7 separate regions of the Homo sapiens genome follow, and all the other regions are linked to region 5. Evidence: promoter capture Hi-C in 16 types of primary human blood cells and fetal thymus (Javierre and others, 2016). All regions are on one chromosome and are shown on one strand. Each heading gives the region's core, a stretch centred on a gene start or on the middle of the fragment in contact. The rest is flanking DNA. Distances are from core to core; before and after follow the strand shown.

Region 1 (2,700 bases), core at 3-2,502, 820 kb after region 5:
GGGTACAGATTAAATATGAATTTGAATACTGTGAATAAGAAATATAATTTCATCTCTCTCCACTTCAAATGGCCTCCTTTAGATGGGTTTAAAACAAGTTTTTGATGGTATCTGGGCCCACAATTACATTCTTAACATTTTTTCGATTAAAATTTTTTTTTTTTTGAGATGGAGTTTCACTCTTGTTGCTCAGGCTGGAGCGCAATGGCACGATCTCGGCTCACCGCAACCTCCACCTCCCAGGTTCAAGCGATTCTCCTGCCTCAGCCTCCCAAGTAGCTGGGATTACACGCACACGCCACCACGTCCGGCTAATTTTTCTATTTTTAGCAGAGATGGGGTTTCACCATGTTAGTCAGGCTGGTCTTGAACTCCTGACCTCAGGTGATCCACCCGCCTCAGCCTCCTAATAAAATTTATCTTAATAAGATAATATGTTAATATAAGATAGAGGACTGATGCCTGAAATTAATTTTTGTGCTCTAAAATTCTGTGGAAGTACTGCTTCCAAATACGACACATATTTTACTCCGTATCTCTTTAGAATTAATATAAAGTAGGGAGAAATGAGGAACAAGATAGGGTAAAGTGAGTCCTGCATGCCACTTCTGTCCTCCAACTAAGAGCGGTGGTGTAGTTTTTAACAGTTCTTACGTGTCCTCTGAGGGCTATTTCAGAATCTTCTAGACTACAGAGAGAAAACCTGAGATTTCCGTTGTTCACCTAAGGGTCTGTAGAGAATCTTTTTTACATGAAGGCCCAGATTCTTAACAAGGTATTCATGCCTACTAACGTACGAGAACTTCAGGTTTAGGCCACTGATATCAGCCTTCCAATTTCCACCTTAATAGTGTGCTAAGTGGAGAATTTCGAGCTCATAAATAAAAGTATCGCCAACCCACAAAAGGAGGTGTGTGACAAAGACGACATTAACCTGAAAACTTGACTGCTGACCTCATGTGCCCCCTTCTCACTATGTAAAGAAATATACAATAAAATGGTGCATCAATTAAAACCATTTTTTCTTTAAAGGTGCACTAAACTCTTTCCCTTACCTAATATACTAATTTATACTTATATAACCATTAAAGTATCCATTTTGGGTCACTGAAAAGTTACTAATGAACTTCAATGTATCTCCGTATTACAGCAGCCTTAAGTTACTGCATAACTGTGACATACTTCACTGGGATCATCACCTGATAAGCACTTTGCTGGGCAATCCCACTAAAAGAAAGCATGTGAAGATCTTACAAGTTACTTGGCTAAATCAGCAAACTCCTGATCAAGTGGTAAAGGAGAGTCACAACTTGGGTTCAAGTTCTAGTTCTGACATTGGCAGTATGGCTTGGGCATACAAAAAATACCTATGTAAATTTCAGTTCACGAACTTGTAAAACAGGGTCAAAAACATTTTTTTCCTCCAGGTTTGTAAGGATTAAGGTACATTTAGAAAGCAACTCACACACAATAGATATTCAAACAATGCTGCATTTCCAGTACGCATTTCAGAAACAACCAGAATCAAAATAACAGTTTAACAAAGAGTATATGTGGGGTTCAACTTTCAAATACCTGCAAAGCCATCATGCTGTAGAGACAGTTAGAATATCACCTATTGTAAAGATAGTATTTCTATTTCTCAGTAAAATTACAGGCCAGAAATTCTGGTTTAAAAGAAGGAATAAATAGATGGACTTAACAATGACAATGCAGGAAACCTCCTAGAGCAGGTTGTCATTGAAATGTCTGTCATAATCCCAGAAATGTTTCCCCAAAATAGGCATTCAGAACCGAAATGAAGAGCTTCAGTAGGTGTGGGTGAGGTTCAGTCATACATGTATTTTAAAGCACCTCATATTCTACAGGAGAGAAGTTGTTAAACTTAACCTGTCAACTGGTGACAGGTGCTATAGAAAAAAAGTAGTGTTAAGGAGAATAAAGCAGCAGCAGAGGTGCTTTATTTTACATAGGGTGGTCTGGGAAGTTTTCTCTGATTAAGGTGACATCGGAAAAATAAAAGTAGTTAAGCATGTCACAGATATGTCTAGGGGAAAAAGAGTTACAGGTGCATGTCACTGCCTTCTTGGGGGAAATCATATAGTTTTCCCTCAGTATCCATGGTTTCAGGACTCCCTGCAGATAACAAAATCCACAGATGCTCAAGTCTCTTATATAACATGATGCAGGGAGGGGGAAGAGGTGGAGGAAAAATAAAATCATGGCATATTACCTGTGCACATCCTCTTGCATACTTTAAATCTCGTGATTACTTATAATACCTAATACAATGTAAATAGTTGCTATACTGTACTGTTTAGGGAATGACAAGAAAAAAGTCTGTACATGTTCAGTACAGACGTTCTCTCCTTATATTTTCAATTCACAGTGGGCTGAATCCATGGATGTGGAACCCAGAGATGAAGAAGGCCAACTGTGTAGATAATAGTTACAATCAGGTGACCTGTTCACAACAGATAGAATTTTATGTAATCTGAGCCATTCAATGTTATGAATAAATATTTTTGGAATGATGAACCCTGTGGACCACTGGGAACTATATGCAACTTGTGCCAGTCAGATTAGTGTATTGAAACTTATAGTTAAAAAAACAAAATGCAACATCAAGTAAATAAAAGTAGCCATCTACATTACTGATCAAATGTAGAAGGCCACTAATAACATTTAACTTATTGTAAC
Region 2 (2,700 bases), core at 172-2,671, 840 kb after region 5:
AGAATCACTTGAACCTGGGAGGCGGAGGTTGCAGTGAGCCGGGATCACGCCACTGCATTCCAGCCTAGGCGACAGACCAGACTTTGTCTCAAAAAAAAAAAAAAAAAAAAGACAAAAATCCACTCTTTGCTTTTTTAGTAGGGTAACAACTATTGGTAACTTTCTCTTGTTCGATATTAGTGTAAAGGACTCCACAGAAATAAGAACAAAAAGGGTAGAGTTAAAAACCGAATTTTACAGGTAGCAATAACCTGGACTCAGGTAAAAGTGCGTGATGAAGAATTGATCAAAGGGCCTTCATCCTAGCTTTCAACTATTCTACCAATCCTCAGTAGACTTGATGGGGGTTAGAATGGTATTCCCTGGCATATGCTTTTAAAACAAAATCATTTCAGGCAAAAGAAAAGTCTAGCACCCAGGATAGTACACATACTAGGCAGGATTAATCTTAATAATTACTTGTTGAATCAAGAAGTTGTACATTTCAGATGAAAATTTTAATTTCCTAGGAAACACCGACTTACATTGAACAAAATTTTCATTTGCTATTATTCTGGACTCACCGAGAGCTCAAGATTCTAGTTTTTATCTTCACTTATTTCAAAAACCTTATGCGGTAGGAATTATCCCCAAAGTAATGAAAAAAAGGAATGAGCTTTAAAAGCGGTTGAGTAAACTGCCTAAAGTTAACAGTTTCTAAAGTAAAGAAGCAGCTGAGATTTGAACTTGCTTTTTAGGGCTCAAAAATCCAAGCTGTCTGAGCTTCACTAAAGCATGTACCACTACTTGTCTCCCTAAACTGTCTGATACACAGAACATTTATTAAATTTTAAGGATTTTTGTTTTTGTCTTCTATGTTGCCAGTCCTTCCATTTCACATTACCTCCTTTGCTGGGTAAGCTATATACCCTCAATACAACGAGAATGGTGTCAGAGTACAAGCCTTAAGAACAGAAAATTTCTTTTACTCCGTACGCCAGAGGTCTGGCGCCACCACCACAAGCGACAAACACAGGCTGGGGTCCAGAAACGCTGCCGACCGCGCCCAGATCTCAAGTTTTAGTCAAGGCCCACGTTCAGACTAGGAGAGGGGAGAAGAGAGGGTTCTCTTTCCCCACACCCTCGCCACGGTGGAAGCACAGAGGAGAAGGTTGGAGTCGCAGTAACAGTGCAAACAATAAACCCGAAAGCCCCTCTTAAGCCCGTTAAACGCACTTACTTGATTGAAGTAATTCCAGGACGCTAGGCCGGCACCGGCAACGGAAAAGGCTTCTCTGTCCTCCAGCCCAGGCGCTGGTGCTGACGACATCTGGACTGCGCCGCAGAGAGTGAAGGCCCAGCGCGAGGCCGCGAGCCCAGCGCCCAGAGCGCGCGCTCACGAAAGGAGCGGGGCATCCCAACGGCGCCACCTTTAAGCGTCACGGGTGGGGCTGCAGCTTCTGGACCTAGGACTTTGAACATGTCGCGCCTGAAGCGGATAGCGGGGCAGGATCTCCGCGCTGGTTTCAAAGCAGGTGGAAGAGACTGCGGTACCTCGGTACCCCAAGGGCTGTTGAAGGCAGCGAGGAAGAGCGGCCAGTTAAACCTGTCGGGTAGAAACCTCAGTGAAGGTAAGACCCAGAGGTACGACCCTATTGTGTCTCCTGTCAGAAAGCCTTTGGCCCAGGCAACCTCCCTTTTCTCTGGGCTGGCTTTGGCCCCCTTTCTCAGACTGCTAGCCAGAATTTCTGTGCTCTAATCTAATCCCTGTGCTCATTTCGACCGGTTTGGTTAGCCCAGTTCAGTTCCTTCCCAGGTTCCCGCAATCTCTGTTAAAGGGACCCTGCTAAAAATACGGTCTAAATTTAAACGGGGCGCTTTCTGGGATTCCCACATTCTGTGGGATAAGCAACATAATATGTGACGAAACCAGCTATCAAATCACGGGCAAATCTTTTGTTTCTTTGGCCCTTATTTTCCTCCTCTTATTGTAATCTTCAAGGGCAATTACCAAAGCTAAAATTATATGTTTTATCGGCCCCTTTGTGAACCTGCACTGTTCCCTGCCGAGACGCTCTTCTGTATGCAGCTGTGCAGAGTTCTACTTACAAGGAATAATGAGTATATTTTCTAAGTTGAAGATCAGGATAGATGCCACACAGAGTGTTTGAATGTGGGGACATCCTGAGAAACCTGTTAAAGACCAAGAAGCACAAATCTGGGTACCATGAATGAATGGCCAGATGCTCTTCTGATTGTCGTGTGTGTGTGTGTGTGTGTGTGTGTGTAAGAGAGAGAGGGAGGGGAATGGAGAGATGGAGAAATAGAGCATTTTTCCTGTAATGTTTTTCTTCATTTATATTTAGGTTTTAAGACTGATTAAAACCTTCCATTTTCCTTCTAATGATTGCTTTCTTATTGTGACATGTATAAAGTAGATTAGGCAAGCAAATGCTTCTGAATGAATGAAAAGACACAGAATCCTTACTCCACCTAAAAGAGTTTTTGATCAATGGGAACATACTCATTTTCAAACTACAGTTGTGCATATATATATATCTACTTGGTTTCCCCAAAACCTGAAACATTTTTCTCTAAACTTGCATACCTATCATGCTAACATTCTGTTCTCTTACCTGTTTAATTTTTTAACAGCATTTATCACTATCAGAATTTATATCATTTATGTTTTTTGTTTTCTCTGCCCTCCAACCAAAAGGT
Region 3 (2,700 bases), core at 58-2,557, 880 kb after region 5:
AGACTGTAAGTTTTATACTTGTTTATTTCTAAGCATTTTATTCCTTTTGATGCTATTAGGCATATAATTGTTTTCTTAATTCCATTTTTGTGCTGTTCTTTGCAACTGTATAGGAATACAATGATTTTTGAATGCTGATCTTGTATCCTGAAACCTTGATGAAACTATTAGTTCCAATAATTTTTTGATGTATTCCTTTGGATTTTCTATATACAAGACTATGTTGTTTGCAAATAGAGATAGTTTTACTTCTTCCTTTCCAATCTGGATGCCTTTTATTCCTTTTCTTGCCTAATTCCTTTGGCTAGACCCTCCAGGACAGTACTGAATAGAAGGACTGAGACTGGACATCTTTGGGGGAAAGCTTCTAGTTTTTCATTGTTAAGTAACATTAGGTTAGCTGTGGATTTTTTGTAGATGCCCTTTATCATGTTAAGGAATTTCCCTTCTCTTTCTGGTTTTTGAGTGTGTTTGTCCTAAAAGAGTTGTTGAGTTTTTGTCAATTTTTTTTCTGCATCTGTTGAGATGGTCGTGTGATTTAAAAAATTCTGTTAATATGCTGTATTACCTTAATTGATTTTCAGATGGTAAATCAGCTTGCATCCATGGTTAAATCCCACTTAGTAATGGTGTATAATTCTTTGTAAATGTTGCTAGATTTGTTTTTTAGTGTTTTGTTGAGAATTTGAGAGTTATTCATCTGTTGTTTTCTTGTGATTTTTTTTTGTTTCTGGTTTGGGTGATAGCCTAATAATGGCATCATAAAATGAATTGGGAAATGTTCCCTCCTATTTTGTTTTTTGGGTGAATTTATGAAGAGTTGTTATTAATTTTTTGAATGTTTGGTAGAATTCAGCAGTGAAGCCATTTAGGCATGGGCTTCTCTTTGTGGCTAGGTTTTTTTTATTACTCTTCACGTGTTATAGATATACTCAGATTGTCTGTTTCTTCTTGAGTCAGTTTTGGTAGTTTTTATCTTTCTAGGAATGTGTCCATTTTATCTGAGTTGTTTAATTTGTTGGCATATAGTTGCCATAGTTTATCCTTTTCATTTTTGTAAGGTTAGTAATAATGTCCTCTCTTTCATTTCTGATTCTAGTAATGTGAGTCTTCTCTCTTTTTTTCTAGGCCACACTAGCTGGATATTAGTCAGTTTTGTTGACTTTCCAAAGGATGAGCGTTTAGTTTCATTGATCTTCTCTATTGTTTTTCTGTTCTCTATTTCATTAATTAACACTCTAATTATTTATTTCCTTCTAATTGGTTTAGGTTTCTATTGCAGTTGTGACTGACTGGGGCCAGCGTTCTGGGTGGTTAAAGAATTTACCAAGACAGTTGTAGTAAAGAAAGGCAGATTTATTAGAGAAAGTACAAAGATATGTTGCAAGGGTGCAACAAGTAGCACAGCAGAGAAGGGGCTGTCTGCCAAGAGGCAGGTGCTGGAGGGGAGTTTTATAGGTTCATGCTTGGAGTGGGCTATGTGGAACGAGGTCTTGCTGCTGGGGCTGTGTACAGAGCGAGGTATTTGGGAACAGGATGTTGTGCCAGCAAGTTGTCTGTGATTAGAGTTGTCTATGATTAGCTGTCTCTTGGAACAATTGTTCTCCCCCACCTGGGACCCCTTTTCATTGTTGCTTACTTATCTCATCAGGACTCCAGAGTTTAGTTTGTTCTTTTTTTCTAGTATCTTAGGGTGGAAAGTTAGGTTATTGATTTTGGGATCTTGTTTCTTGACATAGGCATTTATAGCTAAAATTTCCCTCTAAGCATGGCTTTATCTACAGCTCATACGTTTTGGTATGTTGTGTCATTTTCATTTATCTCAAAGTATTTTATGATTTCTCTTTTGATACCTTCTTTGGCCCATTGGTTGTTTAAGGATATGTTGTTAAATTTCCATTATAATGTGCCCCTGACATAAAAAAATGTTTTGAGTCTGTTTTGCCTGATACTGTTATAGACACTCAGCTTTTCTGTAGTTGTCTTATTCCTTGGTTCTCTCCTGTGAGCTAGCTTGTGTACAGTCTGCTTGTATACAGTCTAGGCTGTATCTTCAGTAGATCCAGGAATTTCATCCCAACTGCCTTTTACCATAACCTTCATTGTTTTTGAGAGCTTTCATGCTTTGTTGTGAGTGAAGTCAGTTCCCTTGGGAAGAGATTAGGAACTGTTTTTATGACCTGTTTCTCCCCCAGGCAAAATCTTTGAGCACAGGCTGTGAAGCTGGGAATATGGAAGATGGCAAGCTTCTCTAAGAGTAACACTCTCCTCTAGGAGCTGAACACTCAGTAGAAGGAGTCAGCAATAGACTTAGGTTCTCTTGGTTTGCCTCTCCTTTCTTTGAACCAGCAACTTATGAGCCAGGGGAAGAGCAGTCAGGGCCCCAGTATTCTCATCATGCCAAGCTCAAGGTAGAGCCTCCTTTCTGTGCATGTGACCAGAGTGGAAGAAGGGAGTCCTCACCCTACTCATCAGGGATTTAGCATTAGCAACAGGAAGCTGGTGGCAGGATGAGAAATGCTGACACTCCTCTCAGGAAGAAAGCCCTCTGGCTGGGAGATAGGGTTTGGGGCTGGAGGGTTGGGGGAGAGGGAACCCTGTGTTCTCAGTTGTAGCCTTCTGGAGTGGAGTTTCTGCCTCTCTGACCTAGAAGAGGGGAGAGAGGGAGCAGTCTAGGTTCAAATACCACAGACTCACCTC
Region 4 (2,804 bases), core at 27-2,526, 860 kb after region 5:
AAATTGAAACTCTACTAATGAGTTGAAATTTTTCTTAGTATAATATTTAAAGTGGTTGACTTAACACTTCATGACTTCTCTTCTCTTCTCTTCTCTTCTCTTCTCTTCTCTTCTCTTCTCTTCTCTTCTCTTCCATTTTTTGAGACAGGGTCTCACTCTGTAGCCCAGGCTGGAGTGCAGTGGCACAATGTGGGCTCACTGCAGCCTTGACCTCCTAGGCTCAAGCAATCTTCCCACCTCAGCCTTCTGAGTAGATGGGGCTACAGGTGTGCGCCACTACGCCTGACTAATAAGAATTTTTTTTTTTTTTGTAGAGACAAGGTCTCACTAATTTGCCTAGGCTAGTCTCAAACTCCTGGGTACAAGCGATTTGCCTTCTTCGGCCTCCCAAAGTGCTGGGATTACAGGTGTGAGCCACTGCACCTGGCCTTACTTCATGATTTCTGAACAGCCGTTTGGTCATCTTCAAACTGTTCTACATACAGAACAAGTATGTTGAACAGTAGTTCAACTTGTTGCCATTGAATTTGAGGAACAGGAGATTACTGACTAATAGTTTTGTACACTGGCAAAGCTTATATATTGTTAATGATAAGACTAAGAATATTGACTTTGTCTTTTAAAAACTTTTAGATACATGATAATCAGTTGACATCCCTTCCTTCTGCTATAAGAGAGCTAGAAAATCTTCAGAAACTTAATGTCAGGTAAAAATTAAGCTTATTTACTTATATTATTGCCCTTATAATGGTTTAAATCTAATATTCTTTAAATTTTCTCAACATTAAAAATATCTTTGAATTATCTCAGAAAGTAGTTAAAGCAGAATAAGAATTTTAAGTTTTTTAAAGCTTTAATTCTTAGTTTGTATGTTTTTTTCTTTGTTTTAGCATTACCCCCATCATTTCTGATTTTATAAATGCAAGGCTAGTTGATTTTTTTTAAATGCTTAAATTTTTTTTTTTTTATAAAACAATTCTTAGTGGTTTGTTATTGTAGTAAACCTCTTTGTTGATGTCTCAACTTTTAAGTTACCTTGATATTCTAAAAATATCTAAACAATAAGGAAGAAATGTAAAACAATTCTTTCATAAATGAAATACTTCATAGTTTTTATTAGTAGTCGTTTTTAAACTTCTCCAAGGACTCCTGGGATTCTACGGATATATTTTTGTAACTGTCATGGACATACTGGTACATGGGATGTTCAGTGGCAAAGATTGTAGCTAACTCTGTTTGCTCTCTGATACATACCCAGACTTTTAAGAAAGAATAACTTTGCCTTTGTTTGTTATATAGACATAGGCTATGGGAAAGGAGATTTAAAGAGGTCTTATTTTGGAGTAGAAAAAAATGGTTCAGGAACTTAAAGCATAGTTTGAAAAACTGTGGCTTATAAAATAGATACGGTTACAGATCTATGTAATGTAATATAGTCAAGTTTGTTTTCTGGAGATAAGCTAACTGGTTTGAGGGAAAATAGTCCCTCCCAGTAACACTCCTTATTTGGTGGAAAACATAAAATTACCATTGGCCAATGAAAATATATATACATAAAAAGGTGCTAATTATTTAGAACTCCATCACAGTATCTTCCCCTTACAAGTCAAAGGCATAGACGTGGCCTGTAAAGACAAGAGTGGGGATTGTTGAGAGGAAGAGAGGAAGCAGTAAGTGTTGAGTGACATGGCTTAAGCTTTAGATTCTATACTTAAGAGTATGTAGGTGTGTTCTCAGTGAAGAAGTTTAAAAAAAGTATGAATCTTAGGATGGAGTAATTAGCTAAGAAAAGGAGATGGAGGAAATCTATAGCTAAAATTATCTCTCTCCCCAGTTAGATCCCTATCAAGTGTGCAAAGATTTCAGCTAGGTAACCAATAACAGTAACCGACTTAACAATATTATTGGTTCTTGTTTTAGAAGACATCATTTGACTTTTTTTGTCCCAACTAGTTTTATTTTACTGTAATTTAGGGTTATTGTAAGCACCTTGTATTTCCCATTTTCCCCCTGTTATTTGTAAAGTAACTGTATATGGCATGAAAATAGCATGGAATTCGTAAGTGAGTATTTAAGTTGTGATAAACCTGGGAACTAGTTCAGTCATCTCTTAATTATCATGAAGTCTATCATCCTCCATGATTTGGGACTTCTAAACCATTACACTGAATATCTCTACAGAAGGGCTTAACTGAAAAGACCAAGTATGAAGAAGAGTGGAATTCCATATTACATTCAACTTGACATCCTAGGTCCTCAAACAGAAATAGCTATTTTTGCCTTAAAACCGAACATATAAGATGTAACTCCATTGTGGTATATGTGTGCATATAGTTTTGTCAAAATTCTGAAAGTCAGTTATAGTATGTATTAGTCCGTTTTCATGCTGCTGATAAAGACATACCCGAGACTGGGAAGAAAAAGAGGTTTAATTGGACTTACAGTTCCACATGGCTGGGGATGCCTCAGAATCATGGTGGGAGGCAAAAGGCACTTCTTACATGGCAGCAGCAGGAGAAAAATGAGGAAGATGCAAAATTGGAAACCCCTGATAAAACCATCAGGACTCATGAGACTTATTCACTACCACGAGAACAGTATGGGGGAAACCGCTCCCATGATTCATACTATCTCCCACCAGGTTCCTCACACAACATGTGGGAATTATGGGAGTACAATTCAAGATGAAATTTGTGTGGGGACACAACCAAAGCATATCACAGTATAACAAATTAAGTGTCTAGTATGTCCTATCACATTGCATGTCAAATCAAGAGTTGATTATAAGCATGCAATCAAAACAT
Region 5 (2,700 bases), core at 49-2,548:
AGGTTTCCCAGAGAGGAAGGCGTGGCTCCCTCCCGGGCCAGTGAGCCCTGGCGCCGCCGCGGCCGCGGTCCCAGCAGCGGAGTAGGGCGGCGGCTGCGCCCCGCACCATGGGGGGCAGCCCAGCCCCAGCCGCGGTAAACGCCGACCTCCGCCGCCGCCCGCGCCGCGTCTGCCCCCTCCCGCTGCGGCTCTCTGGACGCCATCCCCTCCTCACCTCGAAGCCAACATGAAGGAGACCCGGGGCTACGGAGGGGATGCCCCCTTCTGCACCCGCCTCAACCACTCCTACACAGGCATGTGGGCGCCCGAGCGTTCCGCCGAGGCGCGGGGCAACCTCACGCGCCCTCCAGGGTCTGGCGAGGATTGCGGATCGGTGTCCGTGGCCTTCCCGATCACCATGCTGCTCACTGGTTTCGTGGGCAACGCACTGGCCATGCTGCTCGTGTCGCGCAGCTACCGGCGCCGGGAGAGCAAGCGCAAGAAGTCCTTCCTGCTGTGCATCGGCTGGCTGGCGCTCACCGACCTGGTCGGGCAGCTTCTCACCACCCCGGTCGTCATCGTCGTGTACCTGTCCAAGCAGCGTTGGGAGCACATCGACCCGTCGGGGCGGCTCTGCACCTTTTTCGGGCTGACCATGACTGTTTTCGGGCTCTCCTCGTTGTTCATCGCCAGCGCCATGGCCGTCGAGCGGGCGCTGGCCATCAGGGCGCCGCACTGGTATGCGAGCCACATGAAGACGCGTGCCACCCGCGCTGTGCTGCTCGGCGTGTGGCTGGCCGTGCTCGCCTTCGCCCTGCTGCCGGTGCTGGGCGTGGGCCAGTACACCGTCCAGTGGCCCGGGACGTGGTGCTTCATCAGCACCGGGCGAGGGGGCAACGGGACTAGCTCTTCGCATAACTGGGGCAACCTTTTCTTCGCCTCTGCCTTTGCCTTCCTGGGGCTCTTGGCGCTGACAGTCACCTTTTCCTGCAACCTGGCCACCATTAAGGCCCTGGTGTCCCGCTGCCGGGCCAAGGCCACGGCATCTCAGTCCAGTGCCCAGTGGGGCCGCATCACGACCGAGACGGCCATTCAGCTTATGGGGATCATGTGCGTGCTGTCGGTCTGCTGGTCTCCGCTCCTGGTAGGTAGTTCCAGGGTTGGGGGAAGTCAGGATGCGTGTGCGAGTAAGCGGGAACCTAAGACTTTGCTAAGTGGCAGCACCCGCAGGGGTGTGTTTGCAACCGCAGAGCGCTGAAGTGTCCTTTCCTCCTGCCCGCGCGGTCTTGGTTACAGCTTCAGAGCTGAGCTCCTCACTTACTAGCTGAGCGCCTTCCAAGAGCCAGGATTCGCATTAGGCACTGTTTATGAGCACATAGAGATCACAGGGCTGCTCACATTCTAGTCGGGTAGGAGACAGGATGTGTCATTGAAATGACATATATGCAGAGCTAGAAGTTTGTCCTGAGTGCATTAAAAGCAGAATTGCTATGATAACTGTAGCCTGATATTGTGGGGTTTTTTTTTTTTTTTTTTTTTGAGACGGAGTCTCGCTCTGTCACCCAGGCTGGAGTACAGTGGCGCAGCCTCGGCTCACTGCAAGCTCCGCCTCCCGGGTTCACGCCATTCTCCTGCCTCAGCCTCTCCGAGTAGCTGGGACTACAGGCGCCCGCCACCACGCCCGGCTAATTTTTTTTTTTTATTTTTAGTAGAGACGGGGTTTCACCGTGGTCTCGATCTCCTGACCTCGTGATCCACCCGCCTCGGCCTCCCAAAGTGCTGGGATTACAAGCGTGAGCCACCGCGCCCGGCCGGGTTTTTTTTTTTTAATTTCAAATTCCTCTTTCACGTTAATAAGATTTTCAGTCTGCAACCCCATACAGTCACAGCCCTCCTGCAGCTTCTGAAAGACTGCGCGACCTATGGGTGCCTTCAAGGTTCATTCTTGATGAGGCAGGAGAATGAAAGATACGAGTTGCCTCCTCAGCCTTTCGCCATGGTGCTTGACCCTCTAGGAAGTGCCCGAACGACAGTCAGTGGGATCCGGAAGCTCAGCAGCTTCTTCAGGCCAGCATTTACTTACCCTTGTAGCACTCAAGCAGGGTTCGCTAATCCTGAGATAGGAGGTAGAGGTTTCTCCATGTCCTAGCTCCTCACACCAGAGCAATGCAGAGGAGCAAGGGATGTTTGCAGAGGCTCTTTGCCTAACACCTGCCCTTACGTGATATTTTTGAGGTTTTTTTGTCTGTGTTACTTTTAGCTAGAAATGTCCGTGTGTAAGTGCTGTTTACTAATTCCTGAAGAATGGATGCTTACTTAGGCCCTGGGGTGTCTGGGTTAATAGATGTTGCAGAAAGAGCGATATGGTCACTGTTACAAAGGTATAACCAACTATATGTATTATACAGTTGTGGAAAACCTTTGAAACACGTGAACGCAGTTTTTTTTCTTTCCTAATTATGGTAAAATATATTACATACAATTCAGTATTTTAACCATTATTATGTGTACAGTTCAGTGGCATTAGGCATTAAGTACGTTGAGTTTTTTGTGCGCCATGTATACTTTTAAATCCCTTGCATTTGAAAATAGAAATGTAATTTCTTTAACCTGGTTTGGTAGATTGGAGCACAAACCTTGGCTCCAAATCAGTGACATGAGGGGACAAGGAGTGTTATGCTGAGACCTAACTGCCCACAAGTCGCTGTATGGTCACAGTTC
Region 6 (2,700 bases), core at 173-2,672, 790 kb after region 5:
TTTTTTAAATCACAGGAAAATATTGATTTCATTGTCTCCAAAGTGATAAAATCATGTATTACTCATTTTTGCACTTAAAATTTTTCTTATTTATTCCAAGGTGGTTTGAAGGTCCAAGTATGAAAATAAATTAGGGGGATTAATGTATAACAGTTATAAAGTATCATGTTGTATTAAAGAGCTTACTTAGATTGATGTTTTTAAAATGTATCCTGATGAATGTCTCAAGAATGCATCTGTCAAGTTTTTTAGACTGACCAGTAGCTTAAACTTTTTTCAGGATTTTAGGTAATTTGAAAGGAGTTTAGAGACCCTTATTGAAAATATGATTTAAAAATCCAAAGCATAAACCGTAAGAAAAATTTTAAATAAACATCTTTAAAGCTGCATCTTCCATACTGATACATGCATTGCGTATGTTGACATTAAATACATTTTATAATGAAGAAAAATAATCATAGTAAAAAATTGAAAGACCTAATTACTACGTTACATGGACCTATTGAATTTTGGGGGAACGTGTTAGTAAACCCAGACTAGCTTTGTTGAATAGAAGTTGATCGCTGTTATTTAGGAAATGGGTAGATCAAATGACTTAGAGACTGAATTATCCTATCAGTGGTTACATGGGGTTGGAGACACTGAAAGGCAGTGATCACTGTTGCTTCTAGGCTCCCTTACTTTGTAGGAATATGGTATACTTTCAGGAATATGCTATATATGTTTTCATAAGTACAGACACCTTAGGGAAGAAAAAAAGTGGGTAATTGAAGCTTATGGTTGATTAATTTCCTAACAGCACAGCTATGAATATTTTGCTGGGGTACACTGGAGGTAGGAAGACTACTGGAAATTTTTGCACTTGAATTTTGTTTTTAAAGCTTTTTTCTTTAAAGAATGGTAGAAACAGATTATCCATTCCAAAATGTCTTTTCTCTGATCACAAAGAGCAAACAAATGTCAATATCTCTTATGATGGTGAAAAAAAGGAATTAATCGATGCAAATAAACTTTTCACAGTATTACTTTTAATGAAGATTTTTCGAAATGTGCCTTTTAATCCAGTTAATGAATGAAGCTATATGCAGTGTTTCAAATGAATAAGTCAAAACACCATATGTTTTCATAATACCACATGAAAAATCAAGATTTTGCAATGTAGGTACACAAAATTCTATATGTTCTTCTCCATTTGTGATTTTGAAACTGTTTAAATTGGTAGGGGGACAATCGTATAGTCATCTTCAATAGCCATTTAGAAATGGTTAATATTCTTGCCCACTGGTATGGTATCCAGAGAAGATATGGTTTCCATCTTTGAGAAAATAATTCTCTGATGAGACAATTTGCCCTCTGTAGATATTCACATACAGAGAATTGCCAAACTTCATAAAAGGGTAGTATGAAGTAGATGCCCTGATTTTTGTGAGTATAAGAAGTACAGATGATGGTTTGGAAACTGTCACATCTGTCTGCTGATACATGTTAGTAGATGAAAAACTGTTTCCTTCTGCTCAGAACTGGAATTAAGCCCCACTCATGCTAATAAAAATGGGTTTTTATAGTAGTATTCACATACAGTTTATTATTCACACACTGGGGGAGGGTGATGAATAATGATTATTTAATGAGCCCTCTTCCTAGTTTTCCCTAAGTCTGCAGAAGACAAAGATCCTGTTTCCAGGCCATGAAAGGACTGAAGTAAATATTGTAAATAAGTACAGCTGACCCTTGAACAACATGGAGGTTAGGGGTTCAGTTGAAAATCTGCATGTAAGTGGACCTGTGCAGTCCAAACCTGTGTTTAACTGCTGAATTAAAGGTGCTTCCTTCTGCTCATTGATATTACCCATATTTACAAACATGCTAGAGAAAAGCAACTGGTGTAAAACTTGCCCCCACTAGAGAAATGGACAGGAGGTATTAAGTCACTTGTAAAGATAGATAGCAGAACTAAGCTTGGTAAAAGCCCATGATTGTTTGTATACTATAAATTAGCCAAAACTACTCTTGCAAAGCATTTTATGTCAGAAATCTGGGGCAATAGTAACTAACTCTGGTTGCCACCTAAAAATTTCATAACATGTTAAGAATCACATTTTTTACATCATGCAAACCATCCTTACAGAGTGAGCTTACCTTGTGATGAGCTTTTTAATTGTTACAGTTCATTTTAGAAGAGTAATACTTTCAGTCATAATGGTACCTATGGTACATAGAATTACAATTTTGCTTTTTCCACACACTGAAAAATATTGAAGCAAAATCTTAAGAACTTCTAAGAAAGGTGCTTGTTAATCATTCTTGGTTTTCATCATGTTTTGCGGTGAAAATGACTTTAATTAGAGTAGAAATATTGTCTAACATAAAACCAAAAAGATAAAACCCACCACTTATTTACCTGTACCTCCCATACATAGAGTTCTTGATGACTAAAGAAGGATGACAGTAATTGGGATGTTCTAAATACAGTTGTGTGTCACTTAATGATGGGTACATGTTCTGTGGAATGCATCAGGTGATTTTGTCATTGTGAGAACCATATTGGGTGTACTTACACAAACCTAGGTGGTATAGCATACCACTCACCTAGACTATACAATAAAGCCTATTGCTCCGAGACCACAAGCTGGTTCAGCATATTACTGTTCAGCGTATTATTGTACTGAGTACTGTGGGCAATTTTAACACAATTTGTGC
Region 7 (2,700 bases), core at 159-2,658, 900 kb after region 5:
TTTTAGATCTCAGGTATTTATTGATACTATTGCTTGACTTTTTAAAAAGTTATAACTTGTCTTTGAGTTTTGTCTAACTTATTCTTTTTACCTCATATTTTCCTAGGTATGTATGGAAACTGGCCTTTATTTATTAACAATAGTTTAGGAGAATCCAAAAATAGTGTTTAGGAAACCCGAGACAGAATTCAGGAAAAATACTGTAATCAGACATTTATAATTTGTAAGCAATTTACAAGTTACGTCATAAGACAAAATTACTGAAAATATTAACCCATTCTAAGCAAAATTACAAATAAGACATGGAAAGTATTTTTTTCACATTGTTTATTTTCTGAAAGTAAATAGTATAAAACCAGCTGAGTGGGTTATTCAACACAACTTAATGCAGACAATAACTGGAGAAAAGTACAGAGAATGTAGATATAGAAAAAGAATATAGCTTGTACTGTAGAAAGTATGACTTTACATATTAGGCTTGACTTCTGAACACAAAGAAATAGGTTAGAGAAAAATATTTATTTGTAATAGGTAGTCATCTAGTTGGGAATAATTTTCTCACAGGTATTTTCATTATTAGTAGTTATATTGGCTCCTAAAATCCTTTTACCTTTTTGTTAACTTTTCTTCTAACATTGCTCCCAGATCTTTCCAACAGTAAATGAGATTTTGTTTATTGCCATGTTTCATTGTAAGAGCTAAAAAAAAAAAATAGTCATTGTGTAAATTTAAATTCTAAACTTAGAGTAGGAATAGATTTGCTTTATACCTATGGAGTAGAAAACTCCAAATCTCTTAATAGAATCTTTTTAACTTCTTGGTTCATTTTTAAAATAATTTTTAAATTCCTCTTAGAGTAGAATTTCATGTCTGTGTCATATATATTAACACCAATGGAATATTTATGTGGTATTATAGACATGGGGGAAATATTAAATACCCCACTTTGAAGGAGCTAATTAGTTTACAGTGTTTACCCTGTAATCACTATTAAACCTGTAAAGAATTCATTGCATTATCAATTGGTTGCATATTGGTATTATTAGGATTTGGCATACTAACCGAATAACTGCGGTAGGTGACTGATTCAGAATTCTCAGAACTCAGCCTTTATAAAGTCAGATCAAGGATTGACAAACTGATCTACATATTTTTTTTTCCTGCTCAATATTTTAATTATAAATTAAACTTGTAAAATTTTTCAAACTTTGTAAATCTTCTGTTTTGATTTCCAATTTAGGAACAATTTTTTAAATTCTTTGCCAGAAGAAATGGAATCACTGGTAAGACTGCAAACGATCAATCTTTCCTTTAATAGGTAAGAGAACAGACAATTCTAATTGTTATTCTGTGGAAATATGTAGATCTTTCTCATTGGAGAAAACAAAAGCCAAAAAAACAAAAAGGCCCCTTCTACTTTATTTCAATATCCAGATTTTATTTTCACTTAGTTCTTCTTAGAGTTAAAAATATTATTTTCTTAGAATTCTCATAGTTGATGTCTAACATATTTTTCATTCCTTTTTACCATTTTGAGAAACCTGTGGCCTAAAAAGACAAAATAAATAATTACAATTGCTCTAATGGAAGGATAGTGCACAGGAAAATGTCTTCTGAGATTACTTTAAGGTAGAGGAGATAGCATTGAAACTGAGGTTTGAAAAATAGACATTTGCCAGCCATTCAGGTAGAGAGCATTCTAGTTAGAGCTAATAGCATATGCCAAGGCACAAAGATGTGAGAACATATGGGGTGTCTGGGAAACTTCAAGAAGTTCAATGTGCTTTGGACAATAAAGCAAACAGGTAGAGGAGTAGAAGGAACAGATAAAGTCTGGCAAGTAAGCAGTAGCCAGACCTTGAGCTTTTTGTGCTCAACGAAACTTAGATTTTGTTCTGCAAACACTATCAAGATACTGCAGATAATTAAGAGCAACTAATATTTATTGGGAGCTTATTATTCTGCTGGTGCTGTACTAAGTACTTTACATGTAATAGCTCAGGCTTACAAGAACCCTACATGGTAGGTTCTGTTACTGTGTTCATTTAAAAATCAAGGATTAGAAGCTAAATAACTCATCTAAGGTATGCATAAATAGTAAATTATACAGCTGAGATTTGAGTCCAGGTGGTTTGGCTCCAGAAGTTGGGCTCTTAACAACTATGTCACATTGTTTCTTATGATGAAAATGGATTCTAAAAACAATTTAATTAAAATATGAATAACTGGCCAGGTGCAGTGACTGACACCTGTAATCCCAGCACTTTGGAAGGCCGAGGTGGGCGGATCACCTGAGGTCAGGAGTTTGAGACCAGCCTGGCCGATATGGTGAAACTCCATCTCTACTAAAAATACAAAAATTAGCCAGGCGTGGTGGTGGCCTGTAAACCCAGCTACTCAGGAGGCTGAGGCAGGAGAATCGCTTGAACCCCAGGAGGCAGAGGTTGCAGTGATCCAGGATTGCGTCACTGCACTCCAGCCTAGGCGACAGAGCAAGACTCTGTCTCAAAAAATAAATAAAATTTAAAAAATAAAATATTAGCAGCTAATGTTTAATGCAACCTAGATAATGTCCTAAGGTCTTCAAATACATTCATTTAATCCTTATAACAAGTGTATATGTTTAGTACTATTATTATTCCTCATTTATAGATGAGGAAGCTAATGCATAGTGATGTTAAAATATTGCTCATTTTAATT

Evidence for each region. The method cuts DNA at HindIII sites, captures the fragments that hold promoters and counts their contacts. A CHiCAGO score of 5 or more calls a contact.
Region 1: a fragment that was not itself captured here is called in contact with the fragment with the promoter of ZRANB2-AS1 in region 5 in 4 of 17 cell types (naive CD4 T cells, naive CD8 T cells, total CD4 T cells and 1 more); the score reaches 8.4 in naive CD4 T cells.
Region 2: a contact is called between the fragment with the promoter of LRRC40 here and the fragment with the promoter of ZRANB2-AS1 in region 5, in 15 of 17 cell types (naive CD8 T cells, total B cells, total CD8 T cells and 12 more). The highest score is 22.5, in naive CD8 T cells.
Region 3: a contact is called between a fragment that was not itself captured here and the fragment with the promoter of ZRANB2-AS1 in region 5, in 2 of 17 cell types (naive CD4 T cells and total CD8 T cells). The highest score is 5.8, in naive CD4 T cells.
Region 4: a contact is called between a fragment that was not itself captured here and the fragment with the promoter of ZRANB2-AS1 in region 5, in 2 of 17 cell types (total CD4 T cells and total CD8 T cells). The highest score is 7.1, in total CD4 T cells.
Region 6: a fragment that was not itself captured here is called in contact with the fragment with the promoter of ZRANB2-AS1 in region 5 in 5 of 17 cell types (total CD8 T cells, naive CD8 T cells, fetal thymus and 2 more); the score reaches 7.3 in total CD8 T cells.
Region 7: a fragment that was not itself captured here is called in contact with the fragment with the promoter of ZRANB2-AS1 in region 5 in 4 of 17 cell types (activated CD4 T cells, naive CD8 T cells, total B cells and 1 more); the score reaches 5.8 in activated CD4 T cells.

The regions. Positions count from the first base shown.
Region 1 is chr1:70,223,657-70,226,356 of GRCh38, reverse strand. The region is part of intron 1 of SRSF11 (serine and arginine rich splicing factor 11); the gene reads right to left. Among named protein-coding and RNA genes, the nearest start is that of SRSF11, 3.6 kb to the right of the region's middle. The HindIII fragment of the contact is 3,911 bases long and covers 1-2,700 here.
Region 2 is chr1:70,204,300-70,206,999 of GRCh38, reverse strand. LRRC40 (leucine rich repeat containing 40) reads left to right here and starts at 1,421. Exons shown (of 15, transcript NM_017768.5): 1 at 1,421-1,610. The coding sequence starts at 1,460. It also overlaps a transcript of SRSF11 not described here. RefSeq lists enhancers at 1,198-1,507, 1,768-1,827. The HindIII fragment of the contact is 8,465 bases long and covers 1-2,700 here.
Region 3 is chr1:70,167,987-70,170,686 of GRCh38, reverse strand. The region is part of intron 9 of LRRC40 (leucine rich repeat containing 40); the gene reads left to right. Among named protein-coding and RNA genes, the nearest start is that of LRRC40, 36 kb to the left of the region's middle. The HindIII fragment of the contact is 1,882 bases long and covers 367-2,248 here.
Region 4 is chr1:70,185,168-70,187,971 of GRCh38, reverse strand. LRRC40 (leucine rich repeat containing 40) reads left to right here. Exons shown (of 15, transcript NM_017768.5): 3 at 634-707. Among named protein-coding and RNA genes, the nearest start is that of LRRC40, 19 kb to the left of the region's middle. The HindIII fragment of the contact is 845 bases long and covers 854-1,698 here.
Region 5 is chr1:71,045,104-71,047,803 of GRCh38, reverse strand. It overlaps ZRANB2-AS1 (ZRANB2 antisense RNA 1), which reads right to left and starts at 1,298. Exons shown (of 3, transcript NR_038420.1): 1 at 215-1,298. It overlaps PTGER3 (prostaglandin E receptor 3), which reads left to right. Exons shown (of 4, transcript NM_198719.2): 1 at 1-1,123. The coding sequence starts at 227. RefSeq lists an enhancer at 1-574. The HindIII fragment of the contact is 6,286 bases long and covers 1-2,700 here.
Region 6 is chr1:70,258,924-70,261,623 of GRCh38, reverse strand. ANKRD13C (ankyrin repeat domain 13C) reads left to right here. Exons shown (of 13, transcript NM_030816.5): 13 at 1-2,625. Among named protein-coding and RNA genes, the nearest start is that of SRSF11, 39 kb to the right of the region's middle. The HindIII fragment of the contact is 1,077 bases long and covers 884-1,960 here.
Region 7 is chr1:70,149,746-70,152,445 of GRCh38, reverse strand. LRRC40 (leucine rich repeat containing 40) reads left to right here. Exons shown (of 15, transcript NM_017768.5): 12 at 1-13; 13 at 1,241-1,318. Among named protein-coding and RNA genes, the nearest start is that of LRRC40, 54 kb to the left of the region's middle. The HindIII fragment of the contact is 7,254 bases long and covers 1-2,700 here.